4 separate regions of the Homo sapiens genome follow, and regions 1, 2 and 4 are each linked to region 3. Evidence: promoter capture Hi-C in 16 types of primary human blood cells and fetal thymus (Javierre and others, 2016). All regions are on one chromosome and are shown on one strand. The core of a region is centred on a gene start or on the middle of the fragment in contact, and the rest is flanking DNA. Distances in the headings are between cores, read along the strand shown.

Region 1 (3,445 bases), core at 816-3,315, 230 kb after region 3:
CCAATATTTGGAGTCCTTAGACATTAGATTATATGAAAATGATTGATTGATAGGTAAGAAAGGTTAAAGAGAAATGACTTTTTAGGAACTAGACTTGAACGTATAATTAATATGTGGAACTAGTTTGCTTTTATAATTCATTGTATCAAGAAGGAGTCATGTTTTAAATCCAAGGCATTGAGACTATCTAGAAGCAAAAAAGTTGGTTTTAAAAATTCTTTTTATTAGAAGTGTGTTTAAAAACATGTCTTTTTTTCCCTTGAGCGACAGTGGCCTCACTACATTGCCCAGGCTAGTCTTGAACTCCTGGGTTCAAGCAGTCTTCCTGCCTTGGCCTCCTAAGTAGCAGGGATTACAGGCATGCACCCACATGCCAATTTTTATTGCTTAAAATGGCGAGTTCTATGGATATTATCTAGCCCCAAGCCCATATCTGTACACTTTTGTTCATTTTATAATACCAGAAAGAATGTTCTATCAGTAAAAGAAGGTTTTTAAGTATGAATCTCCATTTTTGTGGAGTTTTTCTACCCTGTAAAAATTAACTTTGTGGTTCCCAGTAATTACAGTAAGGAGTTTTTCTATATTTTCACAGTTGGATTTATCTAAGGATATTTCTCAGCATATTAAGGAATCCTTTTCTACATTTGAGCAAATACTGAGGTTCATGTTGTACCAAATAATAATAAATTGCTTTTGTGTTTAATATGTAACACGTAAGAACAATTGAAATTTTCTTCTAAGATTTAATACTAGTCTTTTAGTATAAAGGAATGTAACTGGAGAAAAAAATTAATGCTACAGCCATTTATCCTGTGTTATGTGTTATATAATCTGAAATTTGTCACAATGTTACAATCAGGAAGTTTTTTTTCTGGTTTCTTCTTCCAAAGGAAAATAATAGCCTACTTGTATTTTGAAGTAACTGAAATAAAACTCTCTCCAAGCCTTTTTGCACATTACGTTCATCAGTTTTCATGTGTACATTTGGCCAGGCCTATGGTAAAAATAGGCTCAATTTACTTAACATTTTTATAGGGTTTTTGGTATAAGATTCTTTACAGAGACTAAAATTTGTTGCATATATAACATTCAGATTATTTTAAGTGAAATTGGCTCCTATTGTTAAATATTAGTGCTAAGGAAAGTTCAGTCTTCTAAACTGTCTATACTTTGGCTCTGTGACTTGATTACTTTATAGTCATTATGAAATTGATGGGGTTAATTCCATTGTATTTTTAGTATAGAATTTTCAAATAATACATTTTAGTAAAAAAATTGAATGTTTAATTTTCATACTGTGAAACTGGTGAAAAATATTAAAAACAACCATTTAAAACTTCTGGAAATGGTCCTGAGGACAAATGGCAATGAAGAAACATCTATTCAAGAACATTTACAAAAATTCAGTAAGGAAGATGAGAATCTGTGGTAGTTTGAACCAAGACTGACTACTCACTTCCACCTCCAAGCTCAGCAAGCAGACTAACGCAGCCAAAAACGCTGGGTTCCTTATCCCACCATCTCCCAGCCAGAAATTTTTTTCCCGAAAGGAGCGAGACTGTAGTGATTCTTGTCCTGCCTTCAACTGCCTTTTGCTAGCACTAAGTCCTGGGTCAGTGTGGCCAGGTGAGAGCCGTCTTCTCCCCACCAGGCCACAAAACCTTGAACACATGTGCTGAGATTGCTGGGGCCTTGATAACTCTCTGGCTCGTGAAGTAGGATTCTACCCCAGGAAAAGCAAGCCAAGAGGATCTCAGGCTACTGCCCCCTTCCATTGCACTCAGCTTCTAGAGCTAGAATGCCAACTCAAGCTTGCCATTGTCCCCACCTCTAGCTCCAGATCCCTGGCTCAGAGATTTTTGCCTGCAAATGAGGTAGGATGAAAACAAAACAGGTAGCTCTTAATCTCTTTCCAAAGGAACTGACTTTTAAAAAAAGAGCATGAGAAGTTTAAACTAGAGAGCTCGAGACACACAGCAAAAGAAGTGCAACATAGAGTAATTTATTGTAAAGGAGAAAGAATATTTTGAAAGTTAAGTGCAGGATAGACAGTACACCCTGAGAGAAAGGATTCAGGGCAGGCTGCTTTTAAGGGTGAGACTGCAAAGACTACACTAGTGTAAACAATAGAACAGTAAGCCAGCAATTAGTGGAGTTGAACAACAGGGTATATGGTCAAGAGGAAAAAGTGCGCGAGAGTACGCAGGATTTCTGGGGCATACCAAAAGCTGTGCCTCCCTGAGGAAGAACTTGAGAAACAACGCTGTTGGGATTAGGGAAGGATAGACTTCACTAAAATAATCCATCCAGGCACTAAGCTTAAGCAAATAATAATAACCAAACCAGAGGGAGGTGAACTAGTAGAGTAACTACAGTATGTTATTTAAAATGTCCAGTTTCCAACAAAAATGTATGAGGCATGCAAAGAAACAGTGTGACTCATACACTGGAAATAAAGCAGGCAGCAAAAACTGCCTGTGAGAGTGATCAGATGTCAGATTTAACCAAAAATTAAAGTACCCATTATAAATAAATATATTCACAGAACTAAACAAAAGATTAAAGAAGTAAACATTATGACAGTGTCTCATCAAATAAAGAATATCTCCTAAGCAAACTAACAGGAACAGAAAACCAAATACCGCATGTTCTCACTTATAAGGGGGTGTTCAACATTGAGCACACATGGACATAAACATGGGAACAATAGACACTGTGGACTGCTGGGGTGAGGAGGTGGGAGTGGGTTGAAAAACTACCTATTGGGTACTGTGCTCGCTACCTGGGTGCAATATACCCATGTAACAAACCCACACATGTGTACCCCGTATATCTAAAATAAAAGTTGAAATTATGTGTGTGTGTATATATAATTGAGATATATATATATAGAGAGAGAGAGAAATGTTTAAAGAACCATGTGGCAATTCTGGAGTTAGAAAGTGCAATAACTGAAATTTTAAAATTCACCAGGGGGCTTAACAGTAGGTTTGAACTGGCAGAAGAGAGAATAGGTGAATTTGAAGACAGATTGTAGAGATTATGTAAAAACAGAGAGAAAAGGCAATGAAGAAAATAGAGCCTCAGAGAAATGTGGAACACCATTAAGTGCAGCAATGTGCACTTAATGACACAGAAGGTAGGAAAAATATTCAAATACATAATGGCTGAAAACTATTAGAATACAATAATCTATACATCCAGGAAGCTGAACAAATTTCAAGCAGGATGACCACAAAGAGACCAACAGATAGACACATCAAATTCTGAAAGTCAAAGACAAGGAAAAAATCTTGAAAGCAGCAGGAATAAAAGTATAATACACATCTCTTACAAAGACAGCCCCAATAAGATTAACAGCTTCTCAGCAAAAACAATAGAGACCATATGGCAGTGGGTTATCATTTCAAAGTGCTCTAAGGAAAAACAACTATCAATAATT
Region 2 (3,677 bases), core at 141-2,640, 160 kb after region 3:
CCTGACTGATTTTTTGTATTTTTAGTAGAGATGGGGTTTCACCGTGTTAGCCAGGATGGTCTCGACCTCCTGAGCTCGTGATCCACCCACCTCGGCCTCCCAAAGTGCTGGGATTACAGGCGTGAGCCACCGTGCCTGGCCCACAAAGGGATTTCTATATCATGTGCCAGTAGGATGCTTTTTATTGGTGATTCATCGTGGCTGATAGCAAAGCCAACATGGAGGCAAGAGCTGTAAACAATCTAAGGTTGTGGAGTGGGATAACAAATACTTAAGTAAAACTTCAAAGGTTGCTGAGTAGGGTAACAGATACTTAAGTAAAATACTTAAATGTGATTTCTTAGTAATTGATATGGTGATAGATAATCTAATTGGTTGATTAACTCATACTTTCCTACTAATTATACATCAGTTATTAACATAGCTTGAACCTCAAATGGATACAAGATGTCTTTTACTTTTTAAATTAGAATGAGATGACTCTTCATTCCAGTTCTTTTTAAGCTTGTTATATTTGATAAGCTTAAAGTATTTTTTATGCATTTTCTTTATGCAATAATATGGGCAACATACTTTTGAGCACACTTTCTTGCAAAAGATGACTATGAATTAGGGAGGAATCTGGACTTGGAGGCAAGAGCAGCAGGCATTAGGACTTTTGTAAATACTACAGACCACTCAGGAGAAGACCAAGAATTCAGGTCAGTTAAAACAAATGCCAACGTAAATCCTCTAATAGGCAGTTACAAAATGTTATCCAATGGCAATAACTGAGTTTAGGAGTAAGGCAAGTAAGATACAACAGAAGATGGTTATGTGCCTGACATTCCATGAGGTAGGAATTTTTAATATCACTCACGTGGATAGGCTTCCATAAGTTAAATGGCTGCAACTGGATGAGGAAGGAGACATGAGTTAAGTAAGATTATAAAGGTATTTTATGTTTAAACTTATTTTAAATTTAGTGTGTGCTGTTGAATGGACTATAACTAGATTATGAAATAATGTAATATTTTAATTTTGTGTGCCTAAAATCAATTTATATAGCATAATCTTGGTCTTTTCTTTGATCTGTAGAACACTGGTATGCCAATAATAAATTGTAAATATGCCAATATGTTGACCAGTTGTCTTCAGGGCATCTAGAGGCCTTCTCTGGCTATAAACAACCTTGATCACTTACCCCAATGTGTTATGAATTGAAAAAATACTGAAAGCCTTAATGTAATCTGTTACCATTAAATAATGTATTTTATGGTAGCTGTTTGTCTCTGATTTTATGGAAAGTTCTTAATTTCTTACATCTTTGTTCTTATTCATAAATACTAACAGAGTATGTAACATAATTAAAATTTCACAAGATGGCAATACTTTTAAAGAAACTTGGAAATAAGAGGAAGGGACCGGGCGCAGTGGCTGATGCCTGTAATCCCAGCACTTTGGAAGACCGAGGCCAGTGGATCACCTGAGGTCAGGAGTTTGAGACCAGCCTGGCCAACGTGGTGAAACCCATCTCTGCTGAAAATACAAAAATTATCCATGCATGGTGGTAGGCGCCTGTAATCCCAGCTACTCTGGAGGCTGAGGCAGGAGAGTAGTTTGAACCCAGAAGGCAGAGGTTGCAGTGAGCCAAGATCATGCCACTGCCCTCCAGCCTAGGAGGCAAAGTGAGACTCTGTCTCAAAAAAAATAAAAAGGAGGGGAATCCTTTTAGTCCACATACAATTGTTTTTATTTTAAGAATGTGGCCACTGCCATTTATAACCTGATGGTATAAAATACGGAATTATTAATAGTATAATGCCATCTTAATGACAAAACCTGTGAGTATAACAATGTATGAGATGGTCTTCCATAATATTGAAAGTAAATTCTTCAGGAGTGTAAAATTTCAGTACAGATATCACTCAGTGTTTGTGTTTTCTTCTCTTTCTAGAGTTGTAAAGATGTGGCACCTGTGGAGAAGACTATTAAGTTGCTTCCCAGTAGCCATGTTGCAAGACTACAAATATTCAGTGTAGAAGGACAAAAGGCAATTCAGATCAAACATCAGGATGAGGTTAATTGGATAGCGGGTGATATTATGCATAATCTTATTTTTCAAATGTATGATGAAGGAGAAAGAGAAATCAATATAACATCAGCTTTAGCAGAAAAAATTAAAGTAAGTATCTCTAACAGATTGGTTATTTGTAAGAACTTTTTAAATTTTATGTTTGTAAGACTGAACAAGCCGTTTTATGGGTAGCATCTAAAAAAGAAGCTTGTCACAGAAAAGTTATACTATCATTTCAAATTGTAAGCAGAATAAGCTTTTTTCATGGAATAGGTTGAAATGCAAATGATTCATATGTGACAAAATTATACTTAGAAAAATGATTTTGACACTTAAAAATCTAGGTTTTGGCATTTTGTTTAGTTGTGCTCTTCCTGACTAGCTGTTTTTCTGCAATCATAATCAACATCACCACCTTGATAAAGCTAGCAATAAATTGGTAGCAGTTCTGAAAGCACTAAACAAAAGATCTGTTAAAGGCAAGCAGTGAAACAGTGTTGTTAACTACAGAGCCTCTATTTGGCCATTGGAAATTATTGAAATTGGTATACCACTCTAAAAATATGATCCTTAGAAAAGAGTTTTGTTGGTCCTCATCAACCTGCTGTCATCTAAATATGACATTTGTACCTTGATAGGGTTGAGTCTGCATGTTGAAACTTAACACCTCACTGAACAGGGAGCCAAATCAAAATGTTAAGTCTTATTACATAAAGTAGACAGCTTTTTAGCATTCCTTTGATGGTTGACTGAAAGAATAGTGGACAGTCTATGCTTGCTTCTTTCAAAGTTCAGTTTGTTCTTCTATAATGAGACACATGCATTCTCCAGAATCACTCTGCTGTGCAAAATTGTACAATAAAAAATCACAGGGCTTATGAGGGAAAATGGAAACTAGAGGCACAATACTCAAACTTTCTCAGTAACCCGTTAAGAGAACCTAATAAAATAGTGGCAAAAACAATAATGATAATACATGTTAAATGTTAAGAAATACATAAATACTATAATAATATGGGAGGTTACCTAGCTTGATGAAGCAATGATTGCAGCTTTTGAGTTCCTGTGAAGTGGTGGAAGGAAGGTTATCTGAAAGTGAGGGGAAAGTTGTTTTAACAGTCTGTGGATGAGCGTGGCTCATTAACACATAGTCAACTGAGGTGACTGATAGGTGTTTGAGGTGCAACATTTGTTGTGTTCCCACTTGGTTCAGCTGGGTACAGTTTTCTATGTTGACCTAGTTTTTTCATAGATGAAATTGTACCTAAGCAAAAGTAAAATTTGCCTTATGCTTAAATTGTTTACTGATAGTTGTATTGGAACAAATTTGCATTTTCAAAGTAAACGTAATTGTACTGGAACAAATTTACATTTTCAAAGTAAGCATTGTAACAGAACTTACTGTACTTTTTTCCCTTGATGTCTATGGAGATAAAATTCCCAAGTGTGGAAAAATAATTTATCAAAATTCCAGGCTTTTGAGGTAGTTAGAAATAAGCATTCCTCCATGTCTGGAGAGCTGACATTCATAGACTCTTAGTACGGAGTCCCAATTAGCCAAATTTTTGGAGAGTTAACATGTTTGGCACTATGTAGGAGTTGCTCTTCCATACCGGTATAC
Region 3 (3,845 bases), core at 1,257-3,756:
GCTAGCTAAATAGCAGAATTCAGATAGCATCAAAGTTGTCTTGGAAGAGGTTGAACAGCTAATGACATCTAAAGAAAACATGAAACTCCCTCAGCAGCCTGAAAGACACTGTTACAGTAATTAATCAAAAAGAAAAACCATAGTCCCTTTTCCCCACACCCATTCAATTTAAGCAGTCTTCATTTTCAACAGTAGTAAATTTTCTAGATACATCTTGTAGACCTCACAGTACTAGAAAGGATGCTCCTATTCAAAAGAAATGTATCTTAAGATACTGTGAATGATACTAACTTTTTTGTCCATTTGAATTATGTAAGTTGTGCTATAACAAATCATCCTGTCAAGCGACAGGATCAAGCAAGTATATTTAAATTGATTCCCATCATAACTGGTGGGGTACATCTAATTCAACTGTGGAAAGACCACACAATCACCTTGCTTCTCCTTACATGGCCTGGAGTCTCCGCCTTCTCCCCCTACCGCTCTCCCTTCCTCCCACCCCCACCCACTGCAACAGCCCTCTAGCCTGGGAGGCTTGTTAGAGTAGACGTGAAGATCACAGCCTGTGGGACCACTGCTGAGTGTGTGGGCACTCAGTTTAAGTATTCAGTGATGCTCCTTCCAAACCACTGTCCTGTCCCCACCTCTTCCACTCCCACCCTTGGCCAAAGCACAGATCATAAGCCCTCTGCTCCGCTCCCCTCTGAGATTCGCCTTCCATGAGGAATTCAGGGCTTTCCCCATATCTTCTCTTCCCCACCTTTATCAAGAGATGCTGCTCCCTCCCCGTCAAGTCTCTTTTTGCACTGTCACCACCCAACACTTTCCACGACACTTCTTTGCTTTGACCAGAAGCCATAAGGTAAGGTTGGAAGAACATTTATTCACTCTCCACCAGCCTAGGAAATTAATAGTGGGTCCTCAGCCCTGCCACCTTCTGCTGTTATCATCAGCCTTTTAACTCAGGTTTTGATATGGTGAAAAGAGTCACCAGGGTTATTCAGACACCCCGGCTGTCAGGGTCCTTGGTGGTTAAACCTGGGAAAAGGCCACATGAAGACAACTGTAAGCACACATGATCCCTCTGAATTGTTTTCTTTTCCTGCAATTGTGCTTGCTCTTAAAAATTGAAGTTTTAAACAGGGCTCACATGTGATCATCCTTCCATCTATTGGAGTCTAGCTTGAAATGTGACAACCGGAACCAAAAGAACCTTGAATTTGGTGCCTACTTTGGTTTTGGTGCTGCTGCTTCTCAAGATCCTCAGCAGGGATTAAGAAGTTGGGGTGCACAGCAGGAATATCAGGAAATTGGCAGGCTTGACTTCCTGGCAAATTGCTAGCAGGACCACTAAATGCTGAACTGTACTGTGAATGTATACCGAAATACAAGCAATTATTTCTGTACTAAAGGTGTTTTTAATTTTGTATTTGTGTAAAACCACCTTTGGAAGCAGCAACTATCTAGTCAGAAAAGCAAATGATGTTTCCATTAATCTTTTCTGGGGAAAACATTAGTGCTAAGGATTTAACAATCTGTAGGTAAAGTTTAACCTAACAGTATTCCACAAGGAGACTTTTTATTATCAGACGGTTGCCTAATTTTCATATAATTTTTATATTAATATAATCCTTGGTTCCTCCCCATCCCCTTCATAGGCCACAGCTGAGGTGAAAAGGGTCCTGGAATGGCTAGTGAGAGCTAGAAATTCAGACGGGAAAATTGAAACTCAGAGCAGAAAGGCAAGCTGCCCAAAAATAACAACGCTAGTTAATGGCACAATTGCTACCAGACCCAAGTATCCAGACTTCCTGGAGCTGTGAGATCTTTCATCACCACCACTCTCCAGGTACCGGGCAGTGCCTGTTTCTGGATTCAAACTCACAGCAGCGAGGAAATCCTATTTTAGCAAAGTGATCTACTGTTACTGTTGTTAGTGCACCCCTCTCCTGCGTCTCTGCTTCACATCCACTCCCTCGCCGCCCGCCCCCAAACACTTGGATTCTTCCTAGCCTCTCACAGGTCAGCCACCACCAGAGGACCGTGAGCCTCCGGCAAGTGATCAAATACTGAGCCCGAATTTCGGCAGCCGTACCAACGCAATCCTGGGAGCCCATTCCACCCACTCCGCAGCCCCTCTCCCACCTCACCTCTTCCCTTGTCAGAAAAGCGGACGCCGCCTTCCCAGACTCTCCTCATGAAAACAGCACCCATCTAAATAGTGATCATGAAAAATGCCCCTTCCAGTCCACAGAGAAAAAGCTTTCTCCTTTTCTAAGAGTCCATGGGCGCCGCCATGTTGCTGTACGGAAAAACGTTTCCAGGGCGAGTTGAGCGTTCAGGGCACTCCTCGGCGCTCAAGCTGCCCACAGGTCTTCCGACCTAACTTTAGGGGTCGTGCCAGTCTTCGTAGAGACGGCCACACTGGCCCACAGACCCCAGTTCCTGGGGTGACGCAGCTGGGCGCGACCAGCACGCAGCCTTCCAGCGACGAGGCGGTCGCATGGAAGTTACTGCGCGCGTCGTGCGTAATGACGTCAGCGCCGGCGGAGAATTTCAAATTCGAACGGCTTTGGCGGGCCGAGGAAGGACCTGGTGTTTTGATGACCGCTGTCCTGTCTAGCAGATACTTGCACGGTTTACAGAAATTCGGTCCCTGGGTCGTGTCAGGAAACTGGAAAAAAGGTGACTGAATGACATCGGATTAACTTTGTTTCTGCAGAGCTGTTCTGGAGGAAGAAAGTGATGGCGCCAATGACTTAAATTTAGAGGTCCTGAGGCGATGTTTTGGTGTTTGTTTGCTGTTGGGAGAAGCCTCGAGGCCAAAACTGTGCGAGGCGCTGGTTTCACGGGATCTATTAAATTTCTAGTGGCAACGATTTCCCAAGGAGGAAAGGGGAGGGCCTGGGGGACACTGATGAGGAGTGGAGGCTCGGGAGAGGAAACGGGGAAGAATTGAAGGGGGCGGAAAGAGATGGACAAGAGAGGACTCGTTGGGTGGGTTGCGTCTGAATACTAGTGTAGCTTCTTATGGCCGTGTAGGACTGCGTGTAGAAGTCTTCATCTTAAATCATGAGAGCTACATTCTAAGTGGAGATTAAACGTGGACACACAGGTGTGAGTGGAAAAGTTGAATAGATGAACAAGCGCATATTGAAGAGGAAATAGGCGGCCAAAATCAAGAAGAGTCTAATCAGTGTAAAAGACTAAGGAGTACCCAGAGAAGTAAAAGGATTGTCACCTTCCTGAAAGCCAGGGCAGGACCTGAGAAGGCTGGGTGCAGAGATGAGACAGGATCAAAAGTTTTGTCAATCATGTGTATCCTAGGAGACAAATTTTTTAGCAGATGTGAAGGGAGTGACCTGTTAATGTGGTTTGTAAATGGAGGCAGCCTATAGACCATTTTATGGACCGGATGATTTATCCTTGTTGAAGGGGAGATTGATGCCAAAAGGGCAGTAATTGAGGAAACAATGGGTTAAGGACAGAGCAGGAGAGATTGACATTAGGAAAACAGAATAATTCCATTCTCTGAAACCAAAGAAAAGGAAACATTTTGAGGTGAATAAGAGAATTTGAGGTAATTTTTTTGTCTTCCTATTGAAATAGGCACAGCCAACAGCAGTAATGTGGTCTGGGTAACAGACAGGGCTTTAGCTACCACGGATACCCTTGTGAAGGCAAAAACCGTAACTTACTCGTCTTTGCATCTCCTGCATTGCCTAGCACACTCCCCTATATATATAGTGGGCAGTTAATAAATGTTTATGTTGAATATTTTTAAATGGAATTAAATAGATGTTCCTTGCAAATGAGAACTTCAGTGTACATGAACAAAAAAGAGA
Region 4 (3,372 bases), core at 371-2,870, 180 kb after region 3:
GGTGTTTATTTTACACTGTATATCAGTTCAGACCAGCCACATTTCAAGTGCCCAGTAGTCACACATAGCCATTGGCTACCATATTGGATAATGCAGATCTGAAATAAATCTAAAATTGGGAACTAAAGTTTATCAGTGTCCTGATATAATAATCTACTTCAACATTTATGGTTCATTTTAATCATTGGTTTTGGAAACTATCTTGCTTAATTAATCCTGAATCTTTGCTTGCTTAATTTAGACCATCAGTCCAATCAAGTTGGTATTATCTTTAAATAATATCACCATAAAGTTCTACTGTGTGTCTTTTAATAATGGGGTGTCTTTCCACTGTCACTAATCTCACATTGTACCTTACATGTATTATGAAGATATAAACGTGTGTATATATACCTGTATGTTTATAAATGGAATCCAGATACACATTCAGTTTAGGTATATAATAAGCTTTCCTCCTAAGTATACTATGTTAAATTTTGTCATTTTCCCCTCTCCCCTTCTCTCCTACTCCCCTTTCTAGGCAGAAACATTTAGTTGTAATAAAATAAAAGATAATGACAAAGAAGATGGCTGCTTCTATTTCAGGTATTTCTCAAAACATTTCATATTTTGAATACATATCTTGTTACAAAGTAATTCAACCCTGGAGATATATGTGGGCTCACCTGAGGAAAAGTAATTTATGATCAAATAGAAATGTTAGTGTCTCTAAATTTTTCTCAGTTTTTTGGGAAAAGGTGTGTTTTCGTTTTTAAGCATTAAATTGGTTTTAAGCTTTGTAAATTGTAATTGTATTTGCTTTTGAAACTATCGAAGCCATCAGAAGAATTCTTTTATGTTGTCAGGGCACTTTATAACTTCTTATTATATAGGAGGTTTCTATAAAGATTAGACTGGCTTTTAACATTTCTGTGACTTTGAGCATGTTGCTGCTTCATTCTGGACCTCCATTTTCAAATCTAAAAACATTATGTGTTAAGTTTCTTTACAAATCCTTTATCATCAATAGGGTCAAAATGCTCATTATATTTGTTCAGTGCTTTTTCAGACTAATTGGTAAAGGACCAATCATGGAAGCTCCACCCCTTACCTCTTCCAGTTATTACCGTCTTCCTTCCTGTTGTGCATGCCATGCACACACTCATGTAGACACACACATGCACACACCACAAACCCTCTCCTGATTTGGTCTTATTTAGAGTTCCGTTTATCTTAGCATACATCTCTATAGTCTCTGATTTAGTTGTGCCCATTTTTGAACTTGATATACAATTATTTTCCTTTGCATAAGACTTCTTTCACTCAGCATCATGAGATTCTGTGGCATATAGCTATAAATTCATTCATTTCCATTGCTGTATAGAAGTCCATTGTGTGAACACACTACTATTTTCCATTCTGTTAATGGCTATTTGCATTTTCAATTTTGGGCTATTACAAATAATCTTTATAACACTGGTGCTCATATAAAAGTAAAATTGCTGGGTCATAAGTTCATAGATGTGTATATTTAAATATAGATGTGTATGTTAGATGTTAAATATAGATGTTAAACATAGATGTGTGTGTTTAACTTGAGTAGCTTGAGGGTTTATTTCTTTTTAATACATAGCCTTGCTAGAGTGCAATGCCTAGAGTGCAGTGGCTCACTGCAACCTCTGCTTCCCTGGCTCAAGCGAGCCCCCTGCCTCAGCCTCCCAAGTAGCTAGGACTACAGGAATGTGCTGCCATGCCCAGCAAATTTATTTATTTATTTATTTTGTGTGTGTGTGGAGACTGGGTTTCACCAAGTTGCTCTGGCTAGTCTCGAACTCCTGAGCTCAAAGCCATCTGCCCACCTCAGCCTCCCAAAATGGTGGGATTACAAGCATGAGCCACCGTGCCCGGCCCTTCCCAACACGGTTTTGTGGGTCTTTTCAGGTGTAATCTTCTGGTGGACATGTAATAGAGTGGCATCACACTTACTCTTAATTTGCATTTCCCTGTTTATCATATATTTATTGGCCACTTAGATTACCTTTTGTGAAGTGCCTTTTTTGAGTATCTTAATAACTTTTGTATTATTTTTTATATTAATTTGTAGGAGTTCTTTATATATTAGAGATACAAGCCTTTTGTTTAGACATCTTTGCCTATCCTGTGGCTTGCTTTCTCATTTTATGATATCTTGAACAGCAGTGGTTAATTTTTATATAAGCAAATGTGTTAATCATCTTTTTTATAGTTGATCTTCTTTGTGTCCTGTTTAAGTCTTTCCTTACATTTAGGTCATCAACACATTTTACTATATTATTGTGTTGGGGGTTCCCAATACCAATGCCAGGTTTGATGATTCACCAGGAGGACTCACAGGACTTAATATATAGCTGGGCTCATAGCTATGTTTTATTGAAACAAAAGGATTCAAAGTGAAATGAGCAAGGTAAAAAGCTCATGGGGTGATGTCCAAGGGAAAGCAGACACAGAGGAAGCTTTCCAAGGATTCTGTCTTGGTGAAGTCACAGAGTATGTGCTTAATTCCCCAACAATAAATTGTGACAATGCGTATAAAATGTTGTCAACCAGGGAAGCTCACTGGGGACTCAGCATTCAGGGTTTTTGTTAGGGTGTGGTCACATAGGCAGCCTCTGCCTAGCAAATACCAGATTTTCAGAAGAAAAGCAAGTGTGTAGCATAAACCATATTAGTGCAGTGGTTTAGGCAATGTGAGCCACTCATATCAGTTAAAGGTGAGAACCCTCCTGAAATCTAAACTCACAGATGTCTGCGAAGGGCCCATCTTGCAAGCAGACAAGTGCTTCTAAGGATAGCACTTTAGGTTTGCTGTGTTCTTTTTATACAGTTATACGTGGAATTGATTTTTTTTTTTTTTAATGTATAGTGTGAGGCCAGGTGCGGTGGCTCACACCTATAATCCCAGCACTTTGGGAGGCAGAGGCAGGCAGATCACATGAGGTCCATCGTAAATGATATCTCCTAAAACATTTTTATTTTCTGTTGTTTTTGGTTAGAGAGATGCAATTGATTTATGTATATTGACCTTGTAGCAGTTATCTTTGTTAAACTCCTTCATTTCTTATTTTAAATAATTAATTAATTAATTTAGAGACAGGGTCTCACTATGTCACCCAGGCTGTAGTGCAGTGGTGCAATCATGGCTCACTGTAGCCTTGACCTCCCAGGCTCAAGCAATCTTCCTACCTCAGCCTCTCAGGCAGCTGGGACTACAGACCCACAGCACTACGCCTGACTTATGATTTTATTTTTTGTGGAGACAGGGTCTTACTATGTTGTCTGGGCTTGTCTTAAACTCTTGGGCCTTAGCCTACCAACTAGCTGGGACTATGGGCCCACACCACCACACTTGGTTGA

What was found. Contacts are between HindIII fragments. The CHiCAGO score rates a contact against its expected background, and 5 or more counts as called.
Region 1: a fragment that was not itself captured here is called in contact with the fragment with the promoter of METTL4 in region 3 in 1 of 17 cell types (neutrophils); the score reaches 5.0 in neutrophils.
Region 2: a fragment that was not itself captured here is called in contact with the fragment with the promoter of METTL4 in region 3 in 10 of 17 cell types (total CD8 T cells, naive CD4 T cells, non-activated CD4 T cells and 7 more); the score reaches 13.4 in total CD8 T cells.
Region 4: a fragment that was not itself captured here is called in contact with the fragment with the promoter of METTL4 in region 3 in 8 of 17 cell types (activated CD4 T cells, non-activated CD4 T cells, naive CD4 T cells and 5 more); the score reaches 9.4 in activated CD4 T cells.

Annotation. Positions count from the first base shown.
Region 1 is chr18:2,804,056-2,807,500 of GRCh38, forward strand. SMCHD1 (structural maintenance of chromosomes flexible hinge domain containing 1) reads left to right here. Exons shown (of 48, transcript NM_015295.3): 48 at 1-962. Among named protein-coding and RNA genes, the nearest start is that of EMILIN2, 41 kb to the right of the region's middle. The HindIII fragment of the contact is 507 bases long and covers 1,813-2,319 here.
Region 2 is chr18:2,730,329-2,734,005 of GRCh38, forward strand. SMCHD1 (structural maintenance of chromosomes flexible hinge domain containing 1) reads left to right here. Exons shown (of 48, transcript NM_015295.3): 25 at 1,937-2,164. Among named protein-coding and RNA genes, the nearest start is that of SMCHD1, 76 kb to the left of the region's middle. The HindIII fragment of the contact is 1,741 bases long and covers 521-2,261 here.
Region 3 is chr18:2,568,999-2,572,843 of GRCh38, forward strand. METTL4 (methyltransferase 4, N6-adenosine) reads right to left here and starts at 2,507. Exons shown (of 9, transcript NM_022840.5): 1 at 2,151-2,507. NDC80 (NDC80 kinetochore complex component) reads left to right here and starts at 2,559. Exons shown (of 17, transcript NM_006101.3): 1 at 2,559-2,685. It also overlaps the pseudogene LOC100128926. RefSeq lists enhancers at 1,600-2,522, 2,405-2,564. The HindIII fragment of the contact is 2,186 bases long and covers 2,261-3,845 here.
Region 4 is chr18:2,751,968-2,755,339 of GRCh38, forward strand. SMCHD1 (structural maintenance of chromosomes flexible hinge domain containing 1) reads left to right here. Exons shown (of 48, transcript NM_015295.3): 34 at 521-585. Among named protein-coding and RNA genes, the nearest start is that of EMILIN2, 93 kb to the right of the region's middle. The HindIII fragment of the contact is 1,697 bases long and covers 773-2,469 here.